Linked DNA regions of Homo sapiens: region 1 is linked to region 2. Evidence: promoter capture Hi-C in 16 types of primary human blood cells and fetal thymus (Javierre and others, 2016). All regions are on one chromosome and are shown on one strand. The core of a region is centred on a gene start or on the middle of the fragment in contact, and the rest is flanking DNA. Distances in the headings are between cores, read along the strand shown. Region 1 overlaps TLN1 (talin 1). Region 2 holds the start of VCP (valosin containing protein).

What was found. The method cuts DNA at HindIII sites, captures the fragments that hold promoters and counts their contacts. A CHiCAGO score of 5 or more calls a contact.
Region 1: a fragment that was not itself captured here is called in contact with the fragment with the promoter of VCP in region 2 in 1 of 17 cell types (neutrophils); the score reaches 5.4 in neutrophils.

Annotation. Positions count from the first base shown.
Region 1 is chr9:35,713,599-35,720,614 of GRCh38, reverse strand. It overlaps TLN1 (talin 1), which reads left to right. Exons shown (of 57, transcript NM_006289.4): 12 at 106-182; 13 at 396-576; 14 at 762-875; 15 at 988-1,096; 16 at 1,333-1,541; 17 at 1,705-1,803; 18 at 2,829-2,996; 19 at 3,175-3,469; 20 at 4,059-4,225; 21 at 5,428-5,556; 22 at 5,739-5,855; 23 at 5,928-6,041; 24 at 6,242-6,376; 25 at 6,534-6,662. Among named protein-coding and RNA genes, the nearest start is that of MIR6852, 6.4 kb to the right of the region's middle. RefSeq lists an enhancer at 5,004-5,908. The HindIII fragment of the contact is 7,135 bases long and covers 1-6,094 here.
Region 2 is chr9:35,066,661-35,074,140 of GRCh38, reverse strand. VCP (valosin containing protein) reads left to right here and starts at 1,516. Exons shown (of 17, transcript NM_007126.5): 1 at 1,516-1,804; 2 at 5,779-5,890; 3 at 6,078-6,250; 4 at 7,324-7,466. The coding sequence starts at 1,788. FANCG (FA complementation group G) reads left to right here. Exons shown (of 14, transcript NM_004629.2): 14 at 1-302. The coding sequence ends at 33. RefSeq lists enhancers at 949-998, 1,019-1,158, 1,359-1,408 and a silencer at 1,809-2,438. The HindIII fragment of the contact is 17,727 bases long and covers 1-7,480 here.

The DNA of each region.
Region 1 (7,016 bases), core at 1,278-3,777, 650 kb before region 2:
ACTCAGCTTCTGGAAAATGGCTGGTTATGGAAAGAAGAGGCTGCCTTTTCTCCACTTCCCTCTTCTTTAACTATCCCAACTCTTGTTCCTTTTTCCTTCCTACAGAAAAAAAGCAAGGATCACTTTGGGCTGGAAGGAGATGAGGAGTCTACTATGCTGGAGGACTCAGTGTCCCCCAAAAAGTACGAAGGGAGTTGGGCTGATCCCATTTCCCAGGGGTAGAGAAGGCAAGGCCTGACTCTAAGGACTCTTGGGAGGTGGGGAGTCCTTAGAATGGTTCTTTAACTAGTTGCAGGCTGTAGTGAGACCTCACACACCTGCAAAGGTAGTGTAACCGGGTGGGACGGGTAGAGATGAGGAGTCCTCTGTGAGCTCAATAGTTCACCCCTCTACAGGTCAACAGTCCTGCAGCAGCAATACAACCGGGTGGGGAAAGTGGAGCATGGCTCTGTGGCCCTGCCTGCCATCATGCGCTCTGGAGCCTCTGGTCCTGAGAATTTCCAGGTGGGCAGCATGCCCCCTGCCCAGCAGCAGATTACCAGCGGCCAGATGCACCGAGGACACATGCCTCCTCTGGTAAGTGTCCCACTTCCACCACGGTGCCAGGGCCCTTCTCTCACCCTCAGCTGGGCCGAGCCAGGAGTTAGGCAGTCTTTTCCCAGGTCCCTATTTGTATTCTCTCCCTAGACCCTGGTTCTCTTTTACCTTCTCTTTTCTCCAAACATCCATTCCAGTCCCTGTTTCTCCCCACTTGTCTTTAGACTTCAGCCCAGCAGGCACTCACTGGAACCATTAACTCCAGCATGCAGGCCGTGCAGGCTGCCCAGGCCACCCTGGATGACTTTGACACTCTGCCGCCTCTTGGCCAGGATGCTGTAAGTATGGGATGGAGGAGAGGCCGGTGGTACTGAAGCTGAGACTCCAAGGGATAGGGATGAGGTGAACCAAACCAGGGCAGATCCTGAAGGCTTTTCCTCTCTCTTTCAGGCCTCTAAGGCCTGGCGTAAAAACAAGATGGATGAATCAAAGCATGAGATCCACTCTCAGGTAGATGCCATCACAGCTGGTACTGCGTCTGTGGTGAACCTGACAGCAGGTAGGCCGGATGCTAGCTTCCGGGTGTGTGATGGGGAGAGGGGGTGCAAGTGTGCACAGGCATGCATGTGACTGGCTTCATGTGTGACTGTGCCTTGACTCACTGTGGAAGGGACTGTGTGTGTGCGTCTTTCTGTGGACATGTGTGTGACTAACTGGGTGTGACTTTGCTCCCTCCCCAGCCCTTCGTCTGGCCTGCCCTGTCTCTCATGTTCCTCTTTCTCCTTTTCCCCTTAGGGGACCCTGCTGAGACAGACTATACCGCAGTGGGCTGTGCAGTCACCACAATCTCCTCCAACCTGACGGAGATGTCCCGTGGGGTGAAGCTGCTGGCTGCCTTGCTGGAGGACGAAGGCGGCAGTGGTCGGCCCCTGTTGCAGGCAGCAAAGGGCCTTGCGGGAGCAGTGTCAGAACTGCTGCGCAGTGCCCAACCAGCCAGTGCTGAGGTCAGGGGCCACAGGTTTGGGTTAGGGTGGAGACAGGGTTCAAGCCCAAGGAGAAGGGGCAGTCCAAGCCACAGGATGGAAGCCTGGGTCCCGTGGGCCTGTGATATGCACAGGCATGTGGGCAGGGATTGGGCAGCTTCTGACTGGTGTTCACTCTCCACAGCCCCGTCAGAACCTGCTGCAAGCAGCTGGGAACGTGGGCCAGGCCAGTGGGGAGCTGTTGCAACAAATTGGGGAAAGTGATACTGACCCCCACTTCCAGGTTGGTGACTTACCCAACCCCCCAGAACCCCAGAATCTAGGAAGTAACTTCTGCTCGTGAATCCAGTTCCTAGTCCTGGCTTCTGTGAATTGACCCCTAAAAACCAATCTGAACCTCTATTTCCAGGGGATGATACTAGTAACTTCTGATCTCTCTTTTAGGGGTTAGAATTCAGAACCCCTGAATCCAAACTTAACCTGCTAGTTTACTCTTGGCCCTCATTTATTCTTTAGCCCCTTGTCATCTTTTCTCTCTCTTCCCCGTACATAGCCCTTGCCCCAATTTGAGGACCCCCCACAATGCTATAGACCATGCCACCCTGAGAATAGTGTTCCTCTAGCTCTCCCCCTTCCCGCTCCATGCCAATTTCCTCAGCTGACTTTTCACCCTGGATTTCCCATGCAGATATGTGCATCCAGAGGGGCTGGGGTTCGATCTCCCCCCGATTCCCCTACGGTAACAGCCTCTGGCCTGGGCCTTCCCAGCTTTGTCCTCTCTGAGCCGCATACACTCGTTTCTGTACTTCTTCCTCAGCCTCCTGGGGGACCAGAACTTGGTGGGAGATGAGGAGGCCTGGCGAAGCCAGGCTTTGGGAAATGGGATCAGGTAGGGTAGTACAGGGACTTGCTCCCAAGACTCCAGGATGACCACTTCCAATCCAAGATCAAGAAGTGGAGTAAAGAAGCTGGGGGTGGAGGGATCCCAGGAGATACCTCCTACCTCCTCTCCCCACCCCATTGTAACAGCGCCACCACATTGTCTCCCCGTCATCATCGAGTGTATCCGCCTCATGTGTGTCTCCATTTGGTGTAGGCTGTATTTTCTCTTGGTGTGGGTTTGTTCCTCGGTGGGGGTTCTGTCCTGCTGGGTGCTCAGGGCAGTAGCTCGGGGTAGGTTCTGGTTGCTTCTGCGTACACTCTCCTTTGATTGGATCAGTGGGAATAATGAAGCAGCTTACGCCTCTGAGAAGTGTCTGTGAATCCCAAGCCCAATCTCAGGTCATGCTAACTGCTGTTTTCTCACAGGATGCGCTAATGCAGCTCGCCAAAGCTGTGGCAAGTGCTGCAGCTGCCCTGGTCCTCAAGGCCAAGAGTGTGGCCCAGCGGACAGAGGACTCGGGACTTCAGACCCAAGTTATTGCTGCAGCAACACAGTGTGCCCTATCCACTTCCCAACTAGTGGCCTGTACTAAGGTGAGCCCCAAAGGTTGCTCTAGTCCGTGCTGAGGGGTAATACTACCACACACACGTGAGCCTTTCATTTTATTTCTTTGGCTCTGGAGGCCTCCTCACCCATCCCAGTTACTGCTATGAGCAGCATACTCTACCTCCTTTCCCTTGCCTACGTCTCTGACATTCACTTTACCTACAGGTGGTGGCACCTACAATCAGCTCACCTGTCTGCCAAGAGCAACTGGTGGAGGCTGGACGACTGGTAGCCAAAGCCGTGGAGGGCTGTGTGTCTGCCTCCCAGGCAGCTACAGAGGATGGGCAACTGTTGCGAGGGGTAGGAGCAGCAGCCACAGCTGTCACCCAGGCCCTAAATGAGCTGCTGCAGCATGTGAAAGCCCATGCCACAGGGGCTGGGCCTGCTGGCCGTTATGACCAGGCTACTGACACCATCCTAACCGTCACTGAGAACATCTTTAGCTCCATGGGTGATGCTGGTAAGACACGCACCCCCAGGAAAACAAAAAACCCTACCAGGGTTCCCTAAGCCCACTGGACATCATCCCCTTGCGGACCTAACCACTTCACCCCAAGGAACTCAGCACAGTGTGGGCTTGCCAGCCACACAACCATAGGCTCATCATTAAAGCTCTCTGAACCCTCTGCTTCCCCTTCTGTAAAAGGAATATTAAGTCCTCTACCTTCCCTGGAGCATTTAAAGAATATACCAAAGTACGCACAAAAATATATAGAAAGTGACATGAAAGTGGTATAGCCTTCCCTACTATACCCCTGACCCCAAAAGTTTTCAGAGAGTGTCTCATCTTCTCAAGGCTACTGGCTGAAAATACCCATTGGAGACTGTCCTTCTCCCGTAAGAACCCACTGGAGAATCTTTTTCTCCAAGATCCTAAACCCAGAAAAAAAATAGCCCCAAAGAAATGATGCAAGAGCTTTTGCCAGTCTCTTTTTCTGTCCCTAAAGCCCCCATCTACCTTGTCTACACCACTTTTCCCCACCTTTGTCCCCACCCCTGACACCTCAGTGTCTCTGGCTTCCTCGCCTGACTGTGCCCTATGCTCTCAGGGGAGATGGTGCGACAGGCCCGCATCCTGGCCCAAGCCACATCTGACCTGGTCAATGCCATCAAGGCTGATGCTGAGGGGGAAAGTGATCTGGAGAACTCCCGCAAGCTCTTAAGTGCTGCCAAGATCCTAGCTGATGCCACAGCCAAGATGGTAGAGGCTGCCAAGGTACAAAGCCTTCTGTGCACACTCCCAGACTGGACCCTAGAGGGAAGTAGAGCAGTCCAGATGGTCACCCTCATCTGATGAGGGAGACCCAGGAAAAGCAGAAAACACAAGAGGACAAATATAGGAGCACTCAGGAAATGAATGAGCCCCAAGGCTGTGGGTGAGCCATGACCCAGGCTTTTTTTTTTTTTTTTTTTTTAAAGATGTGGTCTCACTGTGTTGCCCAGGCTGGTCTCAAACTCTTGGACTCAAGTGATCCTCCCACCTTGGCCTCCCGAAGTGTTAGGATTGCAGGCATGAGCCACCACACCTGGCCTAAAATTATTTTTTAATTGACATAATTTTACATATTCATGAGGTACATAGTGACATTTCAATACATGTATAGTAATCAGATCAGAGTAATTAACATATCCATCATTTATCCAAATATTTATCATTTCTTTGTGTTGGGAACATTCAGTATCCTCCCCCTAGCTATTTGGAACTATATAATAGTCTTAACTTTAGTCATCCTACAGTGGTGTAGAACGCTAGAACTTACTCCTATCTAGCTATAATTTTGTGTCCTTTAATAAATCTCTCCCATTCCTCTGTAGTAGGCAACCAGATCCTTTTTCTTTAAGTCCAAGGTCTTAAGTCCAAGGCCTATTTTTACCTTCTTTGCTGCTACCCTGCCTGGGATTCCTTTCCTTCCTGGTCTCCCCTGTGAATACACATAGGCATTCAGTCTCTGGGGCCTCTGCTGCCAGCAGGACACTGAGACACCAGCATGCAGAGAACCATCAGAAAGAAGCCCAGATGATTCCTAGGCCCCCTGGACTCTGGGGCTTTTCAGTTGGCAGGAGTAAGCAGGTCCCCTGCTTTGGTATTCCTGAGATGCCTGCTCTAAACTGAGTCCTCCTTTGTCCAGGAAGCCCTACTCACCTCACTCGTGTGGTATTCCCCAAGGAGGGGAAGACAAAACAATTCCACCTTAAGAAAGGATTTCAGCATCCAGTGGGAATCCTAGCCCCCTGAGGTTTCCCATTGACCTTCATGAGTCAGCTCCTCTCAAAGGTGATTGCCTTTTGGTGGGGCTAGTTAGAGATGACTTCAGGAAAATACATGAATTTTAAACTGAGTCTAGAGGAGTGAGAGAGGAGCTTCTTTAGGATCCACAGGAGAGCTGGGTGATGACTGTCTTTCCACCTCTCCCTCAGGGAGCAGCTGCCCACCCTGACAGTGAGGAGCAGCAGCAGCGGCTGCGGGAGGCAGCTGAGGGGCTGCGCATGGCCACCAATGCAGCTGCGCAGAATGCCATCAAGAAAAAGCTGGTGCAGCGCCTGGAGGTGAGGCTGGGAGTTTCACCAGGAGCAAGAGAGAGTGTGGGTGCTGTGGGAGGAATGAACTGAAAGGGAGGTGCGGAGAGTAAGTTAATACGTCCTTGAGGCATAACCTGGGCAAGGTAGGCCAGGGACTGGGCTGGGCATGGGAATCCATGGGCTTGGTCTGACTACTCTTGTCTTCACAGCATGCAGCCAAGCAGGCTGCAGCCTCAGCCACACAGACCATCGCTGCAGCTCAGCACGCAGCCTCTACCCCCAAGGCCTCTGCCGGCCCCCAGCCCCTGCTGGTGCAGAGCTGCAAGGTAAGACTCTAGGAAGGATGTGGGAGTGGAAGAGGGAGACTTGTGGGTCTCTTATGACATTTTCACCTACAGGCAGTGGCAGAGCAGATTCCACTGCTGGTGCAGGGCGTCCGAGGAAGCCAAGCCCAGCCTGACAGCCCCAGCGCTCAGCTTGCCCTCATTGCTGCCAGCCAGAGCTTCCTGCAGGCAAGGCACCCCCTCTGCACTTCTCTGACCTGACCTTCCCACCTTTCTAAGCTTCCATCTCCCACAGTTTGAATCTCTGCCAAGAGCCTCTTTCCCAATACCAAGCCCCAGTGTTCCCTACATCCTGACCATCATCAGTCCTTGTACCCAAGCCCAGAGGGAGGATGGCACACTTCATCCACCTGCCTATTCCCCAACAGCCAGGTGGGAAGATGGTGGCAGCTGCAAAGGCCTCAGTGCCAACGATTCAGGACCAGGCTTCAGCCATGCAGCTGAGTCAGTGTGCCAAGAACCTGGGCACCGCGCTGGCTGAACTCCGGACGGCTGCCCAGAAGGTATGGAAGCTGGTTCTGGCTTTGGAAGATGAGGCTGGAGTCCTGTGATGAGAGGAAATCTGTGCAGAATAACCCAATACGCAGATAATTGTGTAATCAGAGGCATTGGTGAGACACAGCAGGACCTTCTACACCCAAAACCCCTTTCTTATCATAGGCTCAGGAAGCATGTGGACCTTTGGAGATGGATTCTGCACTGAGTGTGGTACAGAATCTAGAGAAAGATCTACAGGAAGTGAAGGCAGCAGCTCGAGATGGCAAGCTTAAACCCTTACCTGGGGAGACAGTAAGTATGTTTAAGACCTCATTCTTACTCAAATCCTAAAGTCTTCCTTCACCTCCGTGCCCCAGAGCTGCTCAAAACCTTTCCTTCCTTCCTTTTTCTTTTTTCTCTTTCTCTCTTTTATTTTTCTTTTCTTTCTTCTTCCTTCCTTTTTTCTTTCTCTTTCTCTCTCCTTCCTTCTTTCTTCCTTCCTTTCTTTTCTTCCTTTCCTCTCCTCTTTCTTTTCTTTTCTCTTTTCTTTTCTTTTCCGTTCTTTTATTTCTTTTTCTTTCTTGATGGAGTCTCGCTCTGTCACCTAAACTGTAGTGCAGTTGTGCAATCTCAGCTCACTGCAACCTCTGCCTCCTGGGTTCAAGC
Region 2 (7,480 bases), core at 267-2,766:
CGGACATCTCTGCCAAAGTCTTGTGACCTGTAGCTGCCACGTTTTGAAGAGCTTGAGCTGGGTCCCCAGTGGGCTGTCTCTCTGTGGGGAGGGCTTTCTGCTTCACCATCATTAGGAATGTGACCATTCCTATATAATTCCTGGACTGGTGAGATTGGTGGTAGGCCTGTGAAATTTGCCCTAGTTACTACCATTCTCGTTTTGGAGGAAACAATCTCTGCCACCACCAAGTCATTGACTTTGCTCGAGGCACCTTTTTTCCTGTTTCTCCTTTTCTGTTGTCGAGTAAAATTTCATATTTATCTCGTCTGCCTACTACATATACTTGCGTGGGAAGGCTTGTGACCGTCTAGTTGAGTGCTAGTTGTCTATGATGCCCTTTCCTGACATCGTCTACCTTATGAACTTGAAGTCTGGGTATGAGGAAAGGGCTACAGGAATCCTCACTTTGGAGGCAGTGGCTTTAGTCCTTCACATTGCCTGAATGCAGAGCCCCAAAGCCCAGGACAGTGACAATGAGTGGAGTTGGGTCTGAAGGGTGGTCTAGATAGGCCTCTCAGGACAAGGGCAGGTACCTGTTACTTAGAGACAGGCAGGTTTCTCTCAGAGTAACTCTTCACTCCCTTCCTAATTCCAAATTCTAGAAATTCGACTCGTCTTAGTCAAATGTGTCTGTGTGGGTACAGGGTGAAAGGTGAATTGAGTCAGCATATCACCAACAGCTGCCTGTTGACTACTAACAGGGACCCCTGTTATTTGGGGCCCAAGGATTTTCAAGTCCCAGCATATGCAGTTTTCTTGCTAATTTGGGTTCTACTGAATTGGCTGTGTGTTCTGTGGTTGCCCTTTGACTTCTCTGGATTTGAGTGCCTTATTATAAGGTATTAATATTAATGACGGGAGGAAGAAAGGCACAAGCGCTGAGAAACTGCAAAGGCTGTGGGATTGGGGTTACCAGAGGGTGCAGTGACAATGGGGTAGGAGTGGGGTGCTAGTCAGAAAGTTCAGAGTAGGGGTGGTTGGAGGCAGCGTTGAGAAGGAGCAAGAAGTGTCAGGGTGGTGATGGCGTCTTAGAAGATCTCCAGGTTTTGGGAGAAGATGGGTGTATGGGTTACCACAATAGGACTAGACTAATACAAGGGTTCAGTCTATTGTGCCACGTTCTTCCAGGAGGATAAACTCCGGAGCCAATGAACTGGAGCCAAGTGGGAGAGTCCGCCTCTAAGGGATTAAAGGGTCTCCTTTCACTAATCGATCTCGCCCTATTCCTTTCGTTGATTGGCTGAGAATTCCAATCCGTCGAGGAAGCGTAGCGTTGCGGCCAATTGACGTGGCGTTACTAGGCGTGTCGCATCACTGAGGCGGGAGCCAGGCCGCAAGCGAATTTCCTGATTGGCTGTGATCTGCGGGTTGCTGGGGAGAGGCGCGGAGAGGCGGGCGAGAGTCCGCAGGGCAGGCGCTGATTGGCTGAGGTGGGAGCAGCTTCCCTTCCGATGATTCGGCTCTTCTCGGCTCAGTCTCAGCGAAGCGTCTGCGACCGTCGTTTGAGTCGTCGCTGCCGCTGCCGCTGCCACTGCCACTGCCACCTCGCGGATCAGGAGCCAGCGTTGTTCGCCCGACGCCTCGCTGCCGGTGGGAGGAAGCGAGAGGGAAGCCGCTTGCGGGTTTGTCGCCGCTGCTCGCCCACCGCCTGGAAGAGCCGAGCCCCGGCCCAGTCGGTCGCTTGCCACCGCTCGTAGCCGTTACCCGCGGGCCGCCACAGCCGCCGGCCGGGAGAGGCGCGCGCCATGGCTTCTGGAGCCGAGTGAGTGTGCGCGCGCCGTTCGCTTGCTGCGGCGGCGCGCACCGGGACCAGCCGCGCAGGGTAGGCCCGGCGGGGCCTGGCCGTGGGCGCGTCAGAGAGGTGGAGACCAGGAAAGAGGGAAGGGAAGCTAGGGGGCGAGTGAGGGGCCGTGGACCCGGCAGGCCCGGCTGGGGCCAGCTGCGCACCCGCGCGCCCCCTAGGCGGGGCTTGCGTTGGGTCCGGGTCGGAGCCTGGGCCGGATCGTGCTGTGTCATGCAGGCCCCGGCCCGCCCGATTGGCTCCCTTAGAACGGACGTCTGGGCCTGGCCAGGTCTTCCGGCCCACTCCGCCGGCGCGGCGCCCCGGGGCTTTGGGGCGCCAGTCTGCCGTCCGGCCTACCACCCGCCGAAAGCCTTTGGTCCCCGGAGAGAGCAGGCCCCGCGAGCCCGAGGCCCCAGCCGGGCCCGGTGGGCGTGGACTTTGCGCCATGTGAAGGCCTCAGGAGCTCTGCCACCGAGGCGGAGCCCGGGGTCGGGGAAGGCCCGCCGAGCTCAGGGAAGCTCACAGCCGCCTTTTTGGAGCCGGGTCGGCGGGGCCGGAGGTGGGCATCCTCTGTGTGTGACCTGAGTCGTGAAGGACTGTTAGGGAGAGGGCGAGCCCTACCTTTCGCTTCTGGTCTTCTTACTTTAGGCCTGTTGTTCATACTAGAAAGTTTGAGCCAGTTTTCCTTAATGTTATGACTCGTGGGTGGGGAGAAAGGAATTTTTCTTTAACATTTTAGGTTCTTGCTAAAGTTGGAATCTCAGTTCGTGTTTTGTGCGCCTTTCCAGATTTCCAGGTTTCGTGGTGTGCAGTTTAGAGTTGCACTAACTCTTCAAAAACACAAACGTGCGCGCACTCCTTTCCCCAACCAGCTATATTGAGAAATTACCCGGGCTCTGGGGCTTTCTGACCCCACCTCCATCCTTAGGAAAGCGTTAGATAAAACTTGGCTACCTCAGCCCATTCAATTTAGAATAGAGAGCTTTTAGAGGCAAAAAAAAAAAAAAAAAAAAAAAAAAAAACACAGCCAGCCCAAGGAAACTCTATGCAAATTACCTTCCTTCCTTGAAGAGATTAGTTTTTTGAGGTGTGTTCCTTTTTCTCAAGTTTCTGAATTCGGATAAAGTATTACTCAGTTGCTTATTTAAAAGAGTCACTTATTCTGAAAGTATTCTTTTGGTTTATATGCAGTCAGCCTCTTATTTTCAAAAGTAAAAATCTAAAATTCTTGGAACCTGGCATCATCAGCTGTTTCTAACCTCTTGGTCACCTTGATGACTCTTAGCTGAAACCCTTCCAAGTCCCGTGGAGTCCCCTGTGCAGTTCTGGAAAGGGATTGACTTATACAGAAGACAATGGAGGATTGCCCCAAAGAGTGTCCAGAACTGCTGTTGGCCCATGGTCAGGCCAAATTCAGTCTTTTAGAGATTACCACATCTGATCTCAGTAGGTAGATGGGGAATTAGAGGCTTTACCTTAAGAAAAGGGCATACCACTCATCTCCAGAGCCAGAGTCCGGGATGGTAGGCAGAATGGAGGTTTTCCTAGGATACAGCTTTGAGATTAAAATACAAACTATTGACCGGGCACAGTGGCTCAGGCCTGTAATCCCAGCATTTTGGGAGGCCGAGGCAGGCAGATCACTTGAGGTCAGGAGTTTGAGACCAGCCCGGGCAACATGGAGAAACCCCATCTCTATTAAAATGCAAAAAGTAGCCAGGCATGGTGATGGTGCACACCTGTAGTCCCAGCCACTCTGGAGGCTGAGACAGGAGAATCACTTGAACCCAGGGAGGCAGAGATTGCAGTGAGGGAGATCGCGCCACTGCACTCCAGCCTGGGCAACAGAGGGAGACTCCGTTTCAAAAAATAAAAAACTATGGTGACTAGAGGCATCTGGCGTTTTATTTTTCTCCAGTCCCAGTTCTATAAGTCAAGCAAGAAGATGGGCAGTCCCTGGAAGAGTATTTTGATGGGACAGGAGTGGGAGAGCTCGTGGGTTTACATTGCTCTCAACTGTCACATTGAGCATGCTTGGCCTCTAGTGTGTTGATAAGCATTGGAAGAGTCTGCCTACTCAGCAGCATTGTGCCTGGAGTGGCAGACTTTTGGAATGGGGGAAGCAAATTTGAGCAGAGGAAACTGTCGTTAGAAACTAGTTTAGAGGCAGTGGTTAAAAATGCAGCCTATGTGTGAGGGTTAGCAGAAGGCCTACCATTTTGTTAGATGAATGGGGTTTGTTTTTCTCTTGGGTGTATCAGGACCCAAAGATGTAAGAACCCCATGGCTTCCTAGCTGAGCACAGCATTTTTCTTTGTCTCTTGCAAATTGTGAGGATATTTCCAATGGGAATACTATTTTGTCTTGTTTTGTTGACTTCAGTATCCCCAGCCCTTAGAACAATGCCTGGTACATAATAGAGACTCATGAATTTGTTGAATGAAGAAATTCGTTTTAAAAATTTATTTTCTTTGCTTCCTTCATTGTCTGGCCTTCCTACTTTGGTTAATGCTTATGTTTTCCTGAGCCTTACTAACACGAGGCCGCTCTTAAAAAAGAGAGAGCGCTGGGTGCTGTGGCTCACGCCTGTAATCCCAGTACTTTGGGAGGCCGAGGTGGGCAGATCACCTGAGGTCAGGAGTTCGAGACCAGCCTGACCACCATGGTGAAACCCCATCTCTAGTAAAAATGCAAAATTAGCCAGGTGTGGTGGCGCATGCCTGTAATCCCAGCTACTCGGGAGGCTGAGGCAGGAGAATCACTTGAACCCGGGAGGTGGAGGTTGCAGTTAGCTGAGATCGCAGCATTGCATTCCAGCCTGGACAACAAAAGCGAAACTCCATCTCAAAAAAAAAAAAAAAAAAAAAAAAAGGGAGAGGGAGCTTGCTGAGTCTAGTAAGTGACAGCTGGAAACGGGCTAGGTAATAAGTTGGTGTCACTGTCTGGTGAATGATCCTAGCTTCTAGGAAATAACACTGAGTGTAGACCCAGTCGACTTTGATTTGGGTGAGAGGGATTTGGATTTGCCCCATGTCTCAGCATTTCTTGGTTTTGATTTTTTGAGCCAACTTTATGGAATTGTGTACTTTTGCAGATATTACTGTGAAGTTCCTTTTGACCTTGAGCCTCTTTCTGGCGGTTTGATGTCTGTTAGTGTTTTTTCCAAATATGATGGTCTTTATGCTTGGCATTCCTTTGGTACTATGGAATGCCCTGGCATCAGTAGGTTTAGCCTATAAGGAGGGTAGCACCAATGATTCTGCTTCGTTGTCCCCAGGCTTGCTTGGTAGAACTTAAGGCCTCCCTGAGCCTCAAGGGAGGTTGTCTGGCTTACTTAATTCCCTGGAAAGTTAGCTTATGCTTTACTCTATACTGTTAATCATGGTGACCATTAATACCATGTGCCAGGTATTATGTTAAGCATTTTACATTCATTATCTCCCTTAAGACAATAAGCCTCTGAGATAAGTATTATATTCCTTCTTTTATAGAGGAGGACATCAAAGTTCAGAGGTTAGGTAACTTGCCCAAGATCACAATTAAGCAGTGGCATAATTGGAATTCAGACCCAATGGGTCTGACTATAGAGTTCCTGCTCTTAACCACTCTTCTGTAAGTCTAAGACTATTTTTATTTCTCTAACAACTATTCAGCCTCCATTTCTATTATGTCTTCTTCTTAGGCCATTATTTTCTGACCCTGGGGCAGGATCACTCACTTGGGGCCTTATAGCTGGGACACTGACGCTCAAAATACCAGGAGCTGCTGGAATGGGTATTGTAATATGTATGGTAGATACTGCTCCTCGTGACCTTGGCTGCCTTTCCTTCATCTGAGCTTTCTGGTCTAGGGACAGCTTCATCTATTCACTGTTTCTTTCCTAAGTATGAGTTTTAGAGACTGGCGAGGCGCTTGGGGCAGGAGTATCTACTGACTCCATTTCCTCCTTCTAGTTCAAAAGGTGATGACCTATCAACAGCCATTCTCAAACAGAAGAACCGTCCCAATCGGTTAATTGTTGATGAAGCCATCAATGAGGACAACAGTGTGGTGTCCTTGTCCCAGGTAAGCTGTGGCCACAGACTAGTCTTTCCTTACTGCACTTACTTGAGGGATTTTCCCAGGTTTCTTTTCTCATTTTTCTTGCAGTGACTGCAGATAGAGTGGGGTTTACTGGGAATCCCAATCTCCAGGGCTGCTGCTTACTCCCCGTCAGCCCAATGACCCAAAGGCCTTAACTTTCTTTCCTCAGCCCAAGATGGATGAATTGCAGTTGTTCCGAGGTGACACAGTGTTGCTGAAAGGAAAGAAGAGACGAGAAGCTGTTTGCATCGTCCTTTCTGATGATACTTGTTCTGATGAGAAGATTCGGATGAATAGAGTTGTTCGGAATAACCTTCGTGTACGCCTAGGGGATGTCATCAGGTGTGTGTGGGGTTTTTGGCTTCACAGGGATGGGAGGCCAGAGATAGCCTGCATTACAGGCAGGACCCATGTATTACAGGCAGGACCAAGTTCTTGGCACCTGTCGATGCAGGAAGCCTCCTGGTCATGGGAAGACTTATGCTTCAGGGTTGTCTTTAGGTTTTGGTTCTGCCTCCCTGGGACTTCAAAATCCATTTCTGCAGGTCCCTTGAGACAAATTGGCGTTCCTGTAACTTTCTTGATGGCTTTATTTTTTCCTACTAGAGGTGTAATTTATCATACTTATATCCTGGCTTAGGATACCACTCGAGGGTGTGTATGTATATGCCAAATAATCTCCTCACTACTCTCACTAGTATGTCTAATTGATGGCTTGTGTTGGGGTTGGAATGAGGTGGGGGTATGGGCATGGAAGGTGAGCTGCTAGCAGGTCTTTTAAGCCCCTAAGTTAACCCGGGAGAGAGGAATAGTTGGAGCCAGACCTGGGATAGCTCTCAATGTGAGTGATTTTGCTTGTTCTTGCATAATTTTAGGCAAGAGGTTACCCCATCTTGGAGTCATCTCTAGCCACTCCTACCCAACCAACCATCACCTGGCCAGGATCATCTCAGGCTTTTGATTCTTTTGAATGGAGTCTAAGTTTCATGTAGCTTTCTTCTTGGGAGTGCTTAGTCACTTCCTCAAGGTGTTCTGACCACCTGGCTGAGATAATTTTGTTTTTTTCACTTCTGTTTCACTGACCCTGACAATTGTTAGCTTAAGACCTTCCCTTGTAATATTGGGTCACCAGTATTAGCTAGAAGGGGATCATCCTTGGATATCTCCCTGAAGACCCTGCATGTCTTTGTGGGGTTTCTAAATGTGTGGCTCTTGATTTTGGCTCACTGATTAGGAGTGAGTGGGGCTGTTCCTTCGCCCTCACTTCCACCCTGTTCTCCTTCCTCTCTTCGCCTAAAGCCATCCTGCCTTTTCTTTTTCACTTACTATCAGCTATCTGTGCCAGGCCCTTTTGGACACCCAGTGCTTGGGCCCGAAGTGTGGTTGGTAATATGGAGTCTGCTTGTCATCCTCAGCATCCAGCCATGCCCTGATGTGAAGTACGGCAAACGTATCCATGTGCTGCCCATTGATGACACAGTGGAAGGCATTACTGGTAATCTCTTCGAGGTATACCTTAAGCCGTACTTCCTGGAAGCGTATCGACCCATCCGGAAAGGTGAGAGCTAATTC